Linked DNA regions of Homo sapiens: region 1 is linked to region 2. Evidence: promoter capture Hi-C in human tissues and cell types (Jung and others, 2019). All regions are on one chromosome and are shown on one strand. The core of a region is centred on a gene start or on the middle of the fragment in contact, and the rest is flanking DNA. Distances in the headings are between cores, read along the strand shown.

Evidence for each region. The method cuts DNA at HindIII sites, captures the fragments that hold promoters and counts their contacts. A contact is called where the count stands out against the background at its distance.
Region 1: a fragment that was not itself captured here is called in contact with the fragment with the promoter of CLEC19A in region 2 in 1 of the 25 tissues and cell types used here (dorsolateral prefrontal cortex).

The regions. Positions count from the first base shown.
Region 1 is chr16:18,803,574-18,809,249 of GRCh38, forward strand. SMG1 (SMG1 nonsense mediated mRNA decay associated PI3K related kinase) reads right to left here. Exons shown (of 63, transcript NM_015092.5): 63 at 1,287-5,676. Among named protein-coding and RNA genes, the nearest start is that of ARL6IP1, 4.9 kb to the left of the region's middle. The HindIII fragment of the contact is 3,839 bases long and covers 566-4,404 here.
Region 2 is chr16:19,284,314-19,290,196 of GRCh38, forward strand. CLEC19A (C-type lectin domain containing 19A) reads left to right here and starts at 1,418. Exons shown (of 5, transcript NM_001256720.2): 1 at 1,418-1,626. The coding sequence starts at 1,539. The HindIII fragment of the contact is 9,003 bases long and covers 120-5,883 here.

The sequences.
Region 1 (5,676 bases), core at 1,235-3,734, 480 kb before region 2:
TTGGAGAATGTTGGGGTAAAGAAGTTGTAAAGGCAGGATACAGCCAGTTGACAGAGACGCTATTTGGAGAGATTTTAAAGCTATGGAGTCTGAGGAGCAGGTTCTTCTCCACGCCCCTAAAAAAAAAAAAATACAAATGGGGAGGCAGGGAAGATCCCTTGAGCCCAGGAAATAGAGGCTGCAGTGAGCTATGATTGCACCTATGCACTTAAGCTTGGGTGACAGAGCAAAAAACCTGTCTCAAAAAAAAAAAAAAAAAAAAAAGTCAAAAAGATCGAAGCAATCAGCAGCCACATAATTAGTGAATATGTTGAGCACTGGGTATGTGATCTTGCTAGACCCACAGTAATAGCCACTTCCAAAAGAGAGGGTATTTTATTAGGGTTTAAAACTGACATTTCTACTTTTGGGAAATCAGCTTTTGCTGCAGAATATGCTTCTTGTTTTCACCCAAGTTTTCCATGCACAACTTAAGACTTGTTAACACCAGCTTGTGAAATGAAGGTAGGTGAAAAAAACAGAAGCAACTGAAACAGCAGTTTCTCCACTTAGTATTTTTTGTTACTTAACAATGTATTCCCATACCTATTTCTAAATGCACAGCCCTGCTATATGGTCTCTCACTAAATTTCCGATTGGTCTAATTATTAAAAAACACCCACCCTTAACATAGCTTTCTTTAGAGCTTTGTTTTTGTCCTACAGAGACAGGATGTGATCTTTTGAAATGTGCCAGATGACTAAGCAGTTAACACAAATCTTACTAACTTCATTTAGCAGCAACAAATGCAATCTCCAAGATATAAAGCCAAGCTGGACATTTTCTATTTTTTTTCAGAGGTTTCACACTCCAAGGAATGCACCTATCTGTCAATAATGATCTACGGGAATTTTGTTTTTAAATACTGCCAAAATTAAGCTTTATAAATTGGGCCTTAACACAAAGAATTTTATCGTTGAAGTAGAATTTCTACTGCTATTCAAAAATACAACAGATGTTTGAGAATAAAATAGTTACTTTTCTGAGAATTTAGGGGTCTTTTTTGAGGTATTAGTGCTATTCAGAAAAAAAAGACTAGGCTTGGCTCGGCTTAGTGGCTCAGGCTTGTAATCCCAGCACTTTGGGAGGCTGAAGTGGGAGTGTAACTTGAGCCCAGGAGTTCGAGATCAGCCTGGGCAACATAGGGAGACCCTGTCGTTTTGTTTTTTCAAGCTACCCAGGTTCCAAAAGGTTTCAAGTTTTCCAAAATCTATTTTGACCAATAAATTCAGAACTTAAATGCTGTATCTTTTGAGACTGAACCTTTATTTTCTGAAAAACAGGTATTTCATACAATCTTTGCCATGTTAATGCAAATATGCACAAAGTAGGCATGTATTTGTTTTCCAAAAGATGCATTATGAACATTTTCAGGAAGCTGGTGTGATTTATTCAACTTTTAAATACAATCACAAAATTATATCCATCAGGAGGCATTACAACCTTTTGTACAGAAAAGCCACTATTTATACATTGTTACTAAGACAAGGAAGATTCAGTTCAACTCAACTTGCTCTTAGAATAAGGGTAAAAAGTAAATTAACAAGTAAGTGAAGTATGATGTTGTTGCCACTGACATTACAGGTGGAAATATAAGGGAAATTTAAACCAGAAAAATGACACAATAACTTTAAAGAGGAGCTGAAACTTTGTCAAAAAAAGAAAAAACTATTAGCCTGTTTTCAAAGAAAAACATTCTAAAAGTGTGCATTTCAGAACATAGAATTCTTCTAAGTTTACCATCTTCAAAAATCTTCTAAATTGTATGACACTTTTACATTAGCACAACAAACAGCTTTTTCTAAGTCTAGCCAAGTTCCCATGGAAGGCAAACGACCCTAAGTAGTTCATATTTTACAGCCCTTGAACTTATAAAGCTTTTCTCATTAAGAGTCAGTTTTACCCTTCTGTAAATAAGGATGGTGATACTGTTATCCAGGCCTAAAAAGCAGGAAGTGCAACAAACCCTTAGGGTTTCATGATACAGTGAATTTTCCCCTCCCCAACGTTTGGAAAAAATTGGGACACTTGCTAGTTCTTCCCTGTGGGAAGAATCTTTCTAATATTACCCAAATATTGAAAACAAAATCTACCTTCTTTAACCCTTGTATTAGTAATTCTACCTCCTTGGCTTATGGGGGGAAAAGTCCTAGTTTTAAATTGCTGGCATTTTACAAGCTCAACAAGATAAAAAATTGAACACTGGTTTTCATACTCTAATTTTATGTAAAACAAAGATGCTTAAATGTGCGAATAGTAAAGCATTCACTGATATTTGATGTATCTGAATAGGACTAACAGGCTAATTGTAGGTGCTTTCATATGAAAATAATTGGGAGAAAAGAAGAACCAGCTCCTTTGATTTCAGTACTGCCAAAACAAGTAAGCCCCCAGAGTTAATTACAAAAATGTAGAGGAAAATAGGCCCGGAAGACTTTGCAATTTAAAGTACTGCCTATAATACCCCAGATTAAAAAGGACCGAAGATTGCACATCAAGTCTAATATTTGGCTGTACTTGCATTGCCCTGCTCGGCATTTTTAAAAAATGGCTCTTTCCTTAAATTTCACACGTCAGAACAACCACAATTAAAAAAACAAAAAACAATGCAGATAACACCAAACATTGGACAATATTAAGAAAACTACTTACTAAGCTTAGGTAATAGAGGCAAGGGTTAAGGGCAGAAGTGATGGAAGTGTTTCTTTGTATTACAAACCCTCACCCTAAACCTGGGGTTTGGGCTCTAAAAAAGTAATTTAGGGAAGCAGATCAAGAGCCTGATTATCAGTTCTCACATGGAAATCTCAACAGATTTCAAAAGCAACTCACCACAAGTGTCAGACACAAAAGAATCTTAATAATCATCTAGCAAACTACACTAAGAACTCAATGACCAAAAATAATCAATCAAACTTCAAGACACACCAAAGCAACAGTAAAAGAGAAATAACTACACAAGCTAAGCTCTGTAGAGAAATCAACTAAAAATTAGGCAATTCTAGTAAATTAAAGACAGCAAAAAACTTAAGATTGAACTTCAATTTCCAAGGGTACTTTGAAGAGGTTGTTTGTAGGTTATTCTGTACCCCCTGATTCTTAAAGAAAGTGGAGGAGAGGGGGAGGCGACAGAGGAATGGAGGGAAAGGGGGAGGCAAGAGAGAGAAACAGGAGAGGATCCCTGGTTTTCCACAGGTATTTTATCAAAAATGTATGACTTCATAACTACAGCACTCTAACTTTTCTCAGTCTAACTGCTGAGGTCTCTTACGAAAGTTCAAATGGCAAGTCACCTTGTAGAATGACTTAACAGAGGAAGCCAAACTATACAGACCAGGGCCTTGTCCAGAGTGCAGTAAGGAGCAGGCTTTTGAAGTCATCTATTACATCTGCCTTACAACCAAACCCACTGTGTATGCCACATTATTCTTGGAGGGACCACTTTAAAACAAAAGTGATGGATAATTTACCAGAGGCACATGCTTTTGAAGTAAAGCTGTTTTTTGTTTTTGCTTGAGTAAGGTGCCAGGTACCTCTGAAGCCTGAAAACACAGGCAATAAAATTCACCTATTTATCTTCTTTACCAAAGAGAAAGCAATTTCTGAATACTATCTATAGTGCTAAACTAATGTGAACTGACTATCATTGCGATAAAAGTTTTTCCTTATGATGACAATAAAGAATGTTGCTGAAAGACTTTAATCTTGAGAGAGCAGAGGTAATGTGATGAATGTAATTTGCTCCCAGAGCCTCTAGAAAATAAAGCAGTGTGCAAAATACAATATGGCATTATTATTCCAGCTAGGTTTTTTGCGAAAATAAGGTTCCAAATGAATGAAGAAAACAAAATTTGATGCGCTAGGTTCCTTAACTTGCTATTGGACACATGGGTATTTCAAAAAAATCCACCGTGCCTACAATACTTGTTAAAGTACCAAAAAAGCACTGATACTGAAACACATTCTTTCATGGGTACTTAACGATTACAGATTAACGTGGCAATCAGAATACAAAAAAGGCCCAGAGCTATGTGGAATTTTTTCCTTAATACCTTTCAAGTTTGTCTGTGAAGACGGCAACTAGAAAGTGACCACTGTCCTAATCTCTAAAATGCAGGGAAAATGTACTCAAACAATTTTTTTTTTTATCTAGTCATTTATTTTTGACACAGAGTCTAGCTCTGTTGCCCAGGCTGGAGTGCAGTGGCACAATCTCGGCTCACTGCAAGCTCCGCCTCCTGGGTTCACGCCATTCTCCTGCCTCAGCCTCCCGAGTAGCTGGGACTACAGGCGCCCGCCACCACGCCCGGCTAATTTTTTTTGTATTTTTAGTAAAGACGGGGTTTCACCGTGTTAGCCAGGATGGTCTCGCTCTCCTAACCTCATGATCCGCCCGCCTCGGCCTCCCAAAGTGCTGGGATTACAGGCGTGAGCCACTGTGCCCAGCCAACAATTAAGATTTTAATTGTGTTCTATTTTGTATTGATACTTGATTTTAAGAACCCTATTCTAGTCTGGGTTTTTATTTTGGATCAGCAATTTAGCTTACACAGTCAGTACTGAAATGCAATGCTAAATTTAAGGAAACCTTGATCATGAATTCACTATAATGTATTACTGAATAGCAAGCTATTAAAATTGTGCAAAAAGTAAAGCACTTCACAGACTAATAACTGAACTTAATAAAAGATGTTGGTGGATCTCATTTTCACTGTTTCATGTACATGTCCTAAAATGCCAAGTAAATTAAACAACTTTTAATTTACTAAGTGTAAATTAAAAGTATCAAATGAAAAACATGAATTAAAAAAATTTCAGTCTACCTCCACCAGAACATCACTTTATTGTTAATCTATCATCAACAATGTAAAACTCTAATAGATACTCTATCTTGGTTTTTAAAAAGGTAAAAGATTACACTGGATTAGCTACTTTCTATGAAAGAAACTACAGCTATCACAGAAGAGGGAAAATTTGAATGACCTCCAAAAAAAATGCACACTATAAGCAAAAGGGAGTGTACATTAAATCAAATGTCTGTTAGATTCATTACTTTTGAATGCACAGTGACAATTCTGGAAACTGTACATGATAGAATCACAGAAATGACTTAAATAACCGGAATTACATTTTGTGTGTGATCATCAGACCTTTAAACAATCCTTGAATTTTCCATGTTATCAGAAGTTGTTAACAGCATCGAGACGGAAGTATATGAAATATAAGGACTGAAATAAAAGTGAATTTGAAAGATGGCTAATCTACTAGATTAGGTAAAGGGGGAACGGGTAAGTGGTGGGGAGGAGTAGGGAACGATGGGGTGGTTTTTTTCCCTTCATTTCAGAAGTAAGTTCTTCTACTGTAGTGTATCTGTTACATAGCTCTCCATTTTCAGTCCATTTCTGAAATTCATATCGCATAGCCTTTAGCCTTTTTCTACTTACTGGTCAACCCAACCAGTACTGTTGCCAAGCAACAAGTGTTACACGAGAATCTGAATGCATCAAATCTTCCTTGGCTGTGATTTCTTCGCGACCCCAGTTTTCTCTGTTTCTGAGTGGGGTTTGTTTTTTTCCTGGATTGTACACACAGGGTCAGGTGGAATGGAGTTCCAAATCACTCTGTGCTCCGCGGCAT
Region 2 (5,883 bases), core at 168-2,667:
GAGGCATCCTGTAGGTTGAAGCTGAGCCTGAGCTGTGCTCATATTCTGAGTCAGACCTTGGCAGACTTTCAGCTCCAGTGCCAGCAGGCAAGGCAAGCTGTGTGGGCACAAGTTAAGTTATTTCTCACAAGCACAGCAGCAGGTGTTCCAGAAAGACTTGGAAGCCAAACAGACACATTCCAGTCCCTGTGAGTGCCAGCCACATGAGGTGTCAGGGCACCTGGCAGAGCATTTCTGGAGAGGAATAAGGGAGTGCAGGGGCAGGGGATGTGGGTGATGCCAAGGAAAGCCTTGCACTAGATCAATGACAACAATAGCAAATGTTGCTGTCATTTATTGAGCACCTACTACTTGCCAGCATCTATGCCAAGTTTTAGAAACAAATTACTTCATTTAATCCTTGTGAGGTAGGTACTCTACTTATCCCCCATTTTACAGAGGAGGCAACTGAGGTTCAGAGAGGCAAAGTGACTTGTCTAAGGACACAGAAAGTGGGGGAGAAAGACTGTGGTTTTTAGAAATATTGATTCTCCAAAAGAGCGATGAGATCCCAATGAAAACACTAGGGGTTTTTAAACATTGAATTCTGAGCAAGCCACACAGTAGAGCTATGCACTAGTGATGACACTTGCACCTCTTTGTGGAGCACTTATTCTGTGCAACACTCTGTTGAATCTTCTACAGATGCCTCCTTTAACCCCCGGAGGAACCCTGAGAGACCCTGAGAGGTGAAGGGAGAGGAAAGGAGGCTGACTCACACAGGCTTCCTGGTGCTTCCTCAGCGGTGGATGCTGTCAGGATCAGACCCATGGGGTGGAGACCTTGGTGAACCGAAGCTCAAAGAGCCTGGCTGAAAGAGATGCTCTTTCTCAGCTCCATGCAATTGTTGCCCTGTAGAAATGAGGGCTATGTTTCGTTAGGTCTTCCGATTTTCCAATAGAAGGCAGAAATCCGGACTTATACCTAGCATCTCTTGGTTTTATACCTTAACAAATTTTTTAGAATTTAAAACTCTGCAGACCAAACAAATGACATCCATGGCCCAGGAGACCTCTGCGCTCAATGCTTACTTGCAGTAATTTTACCTTCCAGTACATATCTACTCTGAGGGAGGTGAGATGCTTTGTCTCCTGTGACAGGCTGGAATGTGAGTTTCGTTACCATCCCATTTTACAGAGGGGGAAACTGAGTCTCAGAGAAGTGCACACCCAAGGCCACAGCGTGACTCAGAGACAAGACTGAGAGCTAAATTTTGTCTTGGTTCAGAGGCAAGCTTGGGAGCTAAAATGTCTCTTGGTTCTTTGAGGGGGGCTGGCCTAGGCTGCTTTGCTTTCAGCTGTCATTCTGAGCTGTCTCCAACAGTGTGAAGAGGAGGGAGGAGAAAAGGAAGAAAAGAGGAGGGGACTGGAGTCCATCCAGTCTGTCCCAGCTCCTGCCAGGCTCCATCTGACCCTAGGAGAGCAATCCTGGACCCAAGCTCCAGCCAAAAAGCCTCTCTCCTCCACTCAGGCTGGGAGGTTGCTTTCTAGGAGCTCAGGATGCAAAGGTGGACACTGTGGGCTGCAGCCTTCCTGACCCTCCACTCTGCACAGGCCTTTCCACAAACAGACATCAGTATCAGTCCAGGTAAGTGCAGGGACCAGGGCTGGGAGCAGGTGGAGAGGAGTACACTCTCAGGAACTTATTCTATCGGTGAGGCCTGGCAGCTTCTGTTGGGGGGTTGGGGTGGCCTGACCCGAGTCTCCTGACAGCTTTCCCCCTACCAGCTTTGTCATGGGCACTCTTCTAGGCCCAGACACAAAAAGTCCTGGGTTTGAATCCCAGTTTTGCAGTTTACAAGCTGTGTGACATAGAGGAAGTTTCTTGATCTCTCTGAGCCTCAGCTTCTTCTAGAAAGTTGGGTCGCAATGGCATTCTCTTTGGGCTACTGTGCAAGGCAGATAAGATAACATGAGGAAAGTGCTTTGCACAGTGTCTGGCACTACAGGAAGATCTGAACATGGTAGTTTTGTGAGGGATTTGGCATCTGGGCCCCAACCCCACCTTGGCTGTGACAGCCTTCCCAGGGAGCTTTCAGAGCTGCTGCAGTGCCACCAGAGGTTAGGTGCGCAGGGAGGGAGACTTGTCCCTCTAATGGCCTCCCTGGAGGCCTGGCCCAGCAACCCCCAGCCTTGTGGGGCATCCCCAGGGATGAGAACCTGTCAGCCTTGGGCATGTGGCCTCCCAGTGTCCCATATGGAGGGTGAGGGTCTTCAAATGAGCTCAACTTCTTCCACTTTGCAATAGGAAGGCTGGGTTACTGATTCTGGGGGACCCTCATCTGGATGAGAAGAGTTCTGAATCCTATAATTTGGTGGCCAAGAGTCTTGACTGTCACCTCTACCAGGTTCTTTCCAGGCTTGTTTATGTTCATATATGGATTTATTTATCATAGCAGTGGCAGAGATATCATTTTTAAATCCCCGTTCAAGTAAAACTAATAATGAAATACCTAGATGGAGATTCTCATAAGGCCAAATTATTGGGTTGTGATAGTGTTAGAGTGACTTTAAACAGAGGGTTGATAGGGTTGTCAGATAAAATACCAATAAATAAATATTAATAAATTATTTCTTAGTGTAAGCATGCCCCAAATATTACATGGGACGTATTTATACTAAAAATTATCTGTTTGTTTACCTGAAATCAAATTTAACTAGGTATCCTTCTTTTTTTTTTTTTTTTTTGTTAATCTAGCATCCCTAGTGGTAACAATAAGGGATAGTCTTAGCTCATTTGGGCAAGGGGTTTCAGTTCTGTCCTAAACTCTCTGAGTGTATTCATCAGCTCAGGCTGCGAATATCACAGACTGGGGAGCTTAAGCAACAAACATTTATTTCTCACAGTTCTGGAGGCTGGGAAGTTCAAGATCAGGATGCCAGCAGATTTTATTCCTGGTGAGGACTCTCTTCCTGGCTTGCAGATGGCCGCCTTCTCACTGTACCCTCACATGGCAGAGTAAGAGAAAGCTCTGGTCTCTTCCTCTTATAAGCACACTAATCCCATCATAAGGATGGGATCCCATCTAAATCTAATCACTTCCCAAAGGTCCCCCCTCCCAATACCATCACATTGGGAGTCAGAGCTTTAACATATGAATTGGGGGCAGGGAAGAGGAGAGACACAGACATTCCATTCATAGCAGTGACTTGCCTCCTTACTCTCGGACCTCAGTTTCCTCACCAATACAATAAGCAAGTAGGAAAGAAGTTGAACAAAATATCCTTGCAGACTGCGCCTCGTATATCCCAAGATCTTGCCTTTCTGCCCAGCAAAAGTGGGAAGGGGCCAAGACTGAGTTTGAAAGCGGGAGTAACTAGGGGTATTTTCTGTCCTTCACTAGCTTGTGCCCATGGGACCTCTCTGAGACTCAAGTTTCCTCACCTCTCTGAGCCCCAAGTGGGGATAACAAGGGTCCTTATCAAGGGTTTTGGAGATCTTCAATGAGCTCGTGCAGGTGAAGTGCTTAGCACATAGGAAGCATTTAAAAAATGAGTTATTGCCATTACTATGTTTGCCACTGTGGTTGTTGATGTTATACTAGAATTGGCCAGGAGACAGTTTTCTATTCTGACAAAAGTCTTCAACATTGAAAGGAACTTCTGAACATCAGTCCCCAAGCCTCATCCCTACTCTATAGATAAGGGGACTGAGATTGTGTCAATCTCAGCTACCTGGGAGAGCTCGCAGTTTGGAAATGGAAGGATGGGTCTTAAAGATCCACTCAGCCCAACCTTTCCATATTAAGGCTATGGAAACTGAGGCTACAGAGGCCAATTGAGCCAACCATGGTCATCACTGTCCAAGTGGCAGTTCAACTGCTTCCCAGGCTCCCAGCCCTACAGGAAGCCCAGTTTCAGCCTATGCAGATAGATTCTCTAGAGGAAAGTGATTTCAACACAGAGGGAATGTGTGTGAGTTTATGGGTGCATATGGGCAGGAGCGTGTGTGTTGGTATGTTGTAGGGAGGATTTAGGGGTCTCTGTGGGCCCCGGCCGACCATGAGAATACATGTACCTCCAAGGTCCTCCTTATTGAGAATAGGCTTGGTTTTTCATCTTCTTCTGTGGACCCCCAGCCTTTAGGTACAATGCATAACAGGGCACAGGTCATGGGTCATTCATCCCACTACTCCAGACCTTTCATCACCCACCCCTTGCATATGCAAATATACGCAAATAGCACAACTCAGCCACCCCCTATGTTTTGGAGGAAAAAAAACTTTTTAGACATCTCTTAGAGACTTGGGAGGATTTAGACAGACTAAATCCTTTTCCCAAAACCTTTTCTCTGAATCTGCCTTTGATCTCATTGTTTAAGTGGATTAATGAATGTAAAGTCCTCAGAACAGTGTCTGGCACCCAGTAAGAGCTACGTAAACATTTATTATTCTTCTTCGACCATCAAAAAGTTTCCTTTCCCTGACTCCTGAGCCCAAGAACTCTCTATAGCAAAGGAAATTTATAGCAAAGTGTTTTGAAGCTCAGGATCTGCTTCTGCAGGGCTTCAGAAGCGTAGAAGGGGAATAAGTCAGGTTATGTAGCCTCTTCCTCACCCATCCAAGAGCCTGGCATTGCACTCTCAGCTCTGGGAAGGTTCTGTGACCCAGACTGTTTCTACTGTAATAATATCTAATACTTACTAGAGTCTCTACCTCTGAGCTGGAACTGGCTTTTCTGTGAAGTAGGCACTATGATCATGCCCATTGTACAGATTAGAAAACTGAGGCACAAAGAGCTGAGTTTCCCACTAGGACCATCTGACTCCAGAGTCCAAGCTCTGAAGTTGGAGCATAGAGACATAGGCAACGGTGTTCCTACCTCCTAGAGCAGCCCGGATCCTAAAGTGTCCCTTGGACATTCTATCCAGTTCCCCCTCCTCCTCTATGGTCACAGAGCAAGCACTTTGTACATACTTCTAGAATACTTAGTATGCGATGACTCTGCCATGTGCATGTTCCTCCTTCCAGACTGAGAGCAACCTAAGGACACAGACCTCAAGCCAAATAGGCACCCAGGAAACATCGACTTATTTGCTTAATTGTTACATTTGGTGTTTAATAGATTTATTTCACAAATGAGAAAACTAAGACCAGAAAGAAGATATCTTTTAGAGGCGCTAGTCTGTTCAGGAGTTTCTGAATCTGTCAGACTCAAGTCTCAATAGAGTCTCAATCATTGCTCTGCCACTTTTGAGCCAAGACAGTAAGTGACTTACCCTCTCTGAGCCTTAGTCTCCTCATCTGTAAAATGGGGATGATACGGATACTCCCTCCTAGGCTGATCTCAAGGAGTCACATACTAAACACCCAATGAATGGCTGCTATTATTAGCAATATAAGAAATTGTCTAATGCTTTTTTCTGTGTTTCATGTGGCCTCAGGAGTGGCTCACAGAAGGGGCAGCAAAGCTTAGATAGGAGAGACCTGGTGCCACCAGTTCCGCTTCCCAGAGCCAGGGCTCACTGTGAAGGAGGTGGTAGAACCCGTAGGACAGCAGGAGGGCACTGAGGGTGACTGAGTCCTCAGAACGCAGCAGCCACCTTCCTGGAGTCTGTGAGACACTTTCTTCCAGCCCGCTGGGAGTGTCTGGGGCCTAGTATGGGGACTGGGTGGACAAATGTGGCCCCTGAGCCTCTCCGCCTCCCCTCCTGGCTGGGTCCCAAGACTGATCTGGGCAGGAGGCAGCAGGGTAGTGCATTTGTGGGCGGCTGGATTGGGGCCAGGGGAGCCAGCAGCCAGATTCAGTAGGAAGGTGACAATTTATTCCTTTAAAAAGAGTGGGGGTGGGGGGGAGCCCTGAGTTCCACTGATGTGTTTTCTTTTCCTAACAAGCTCAGAACTCC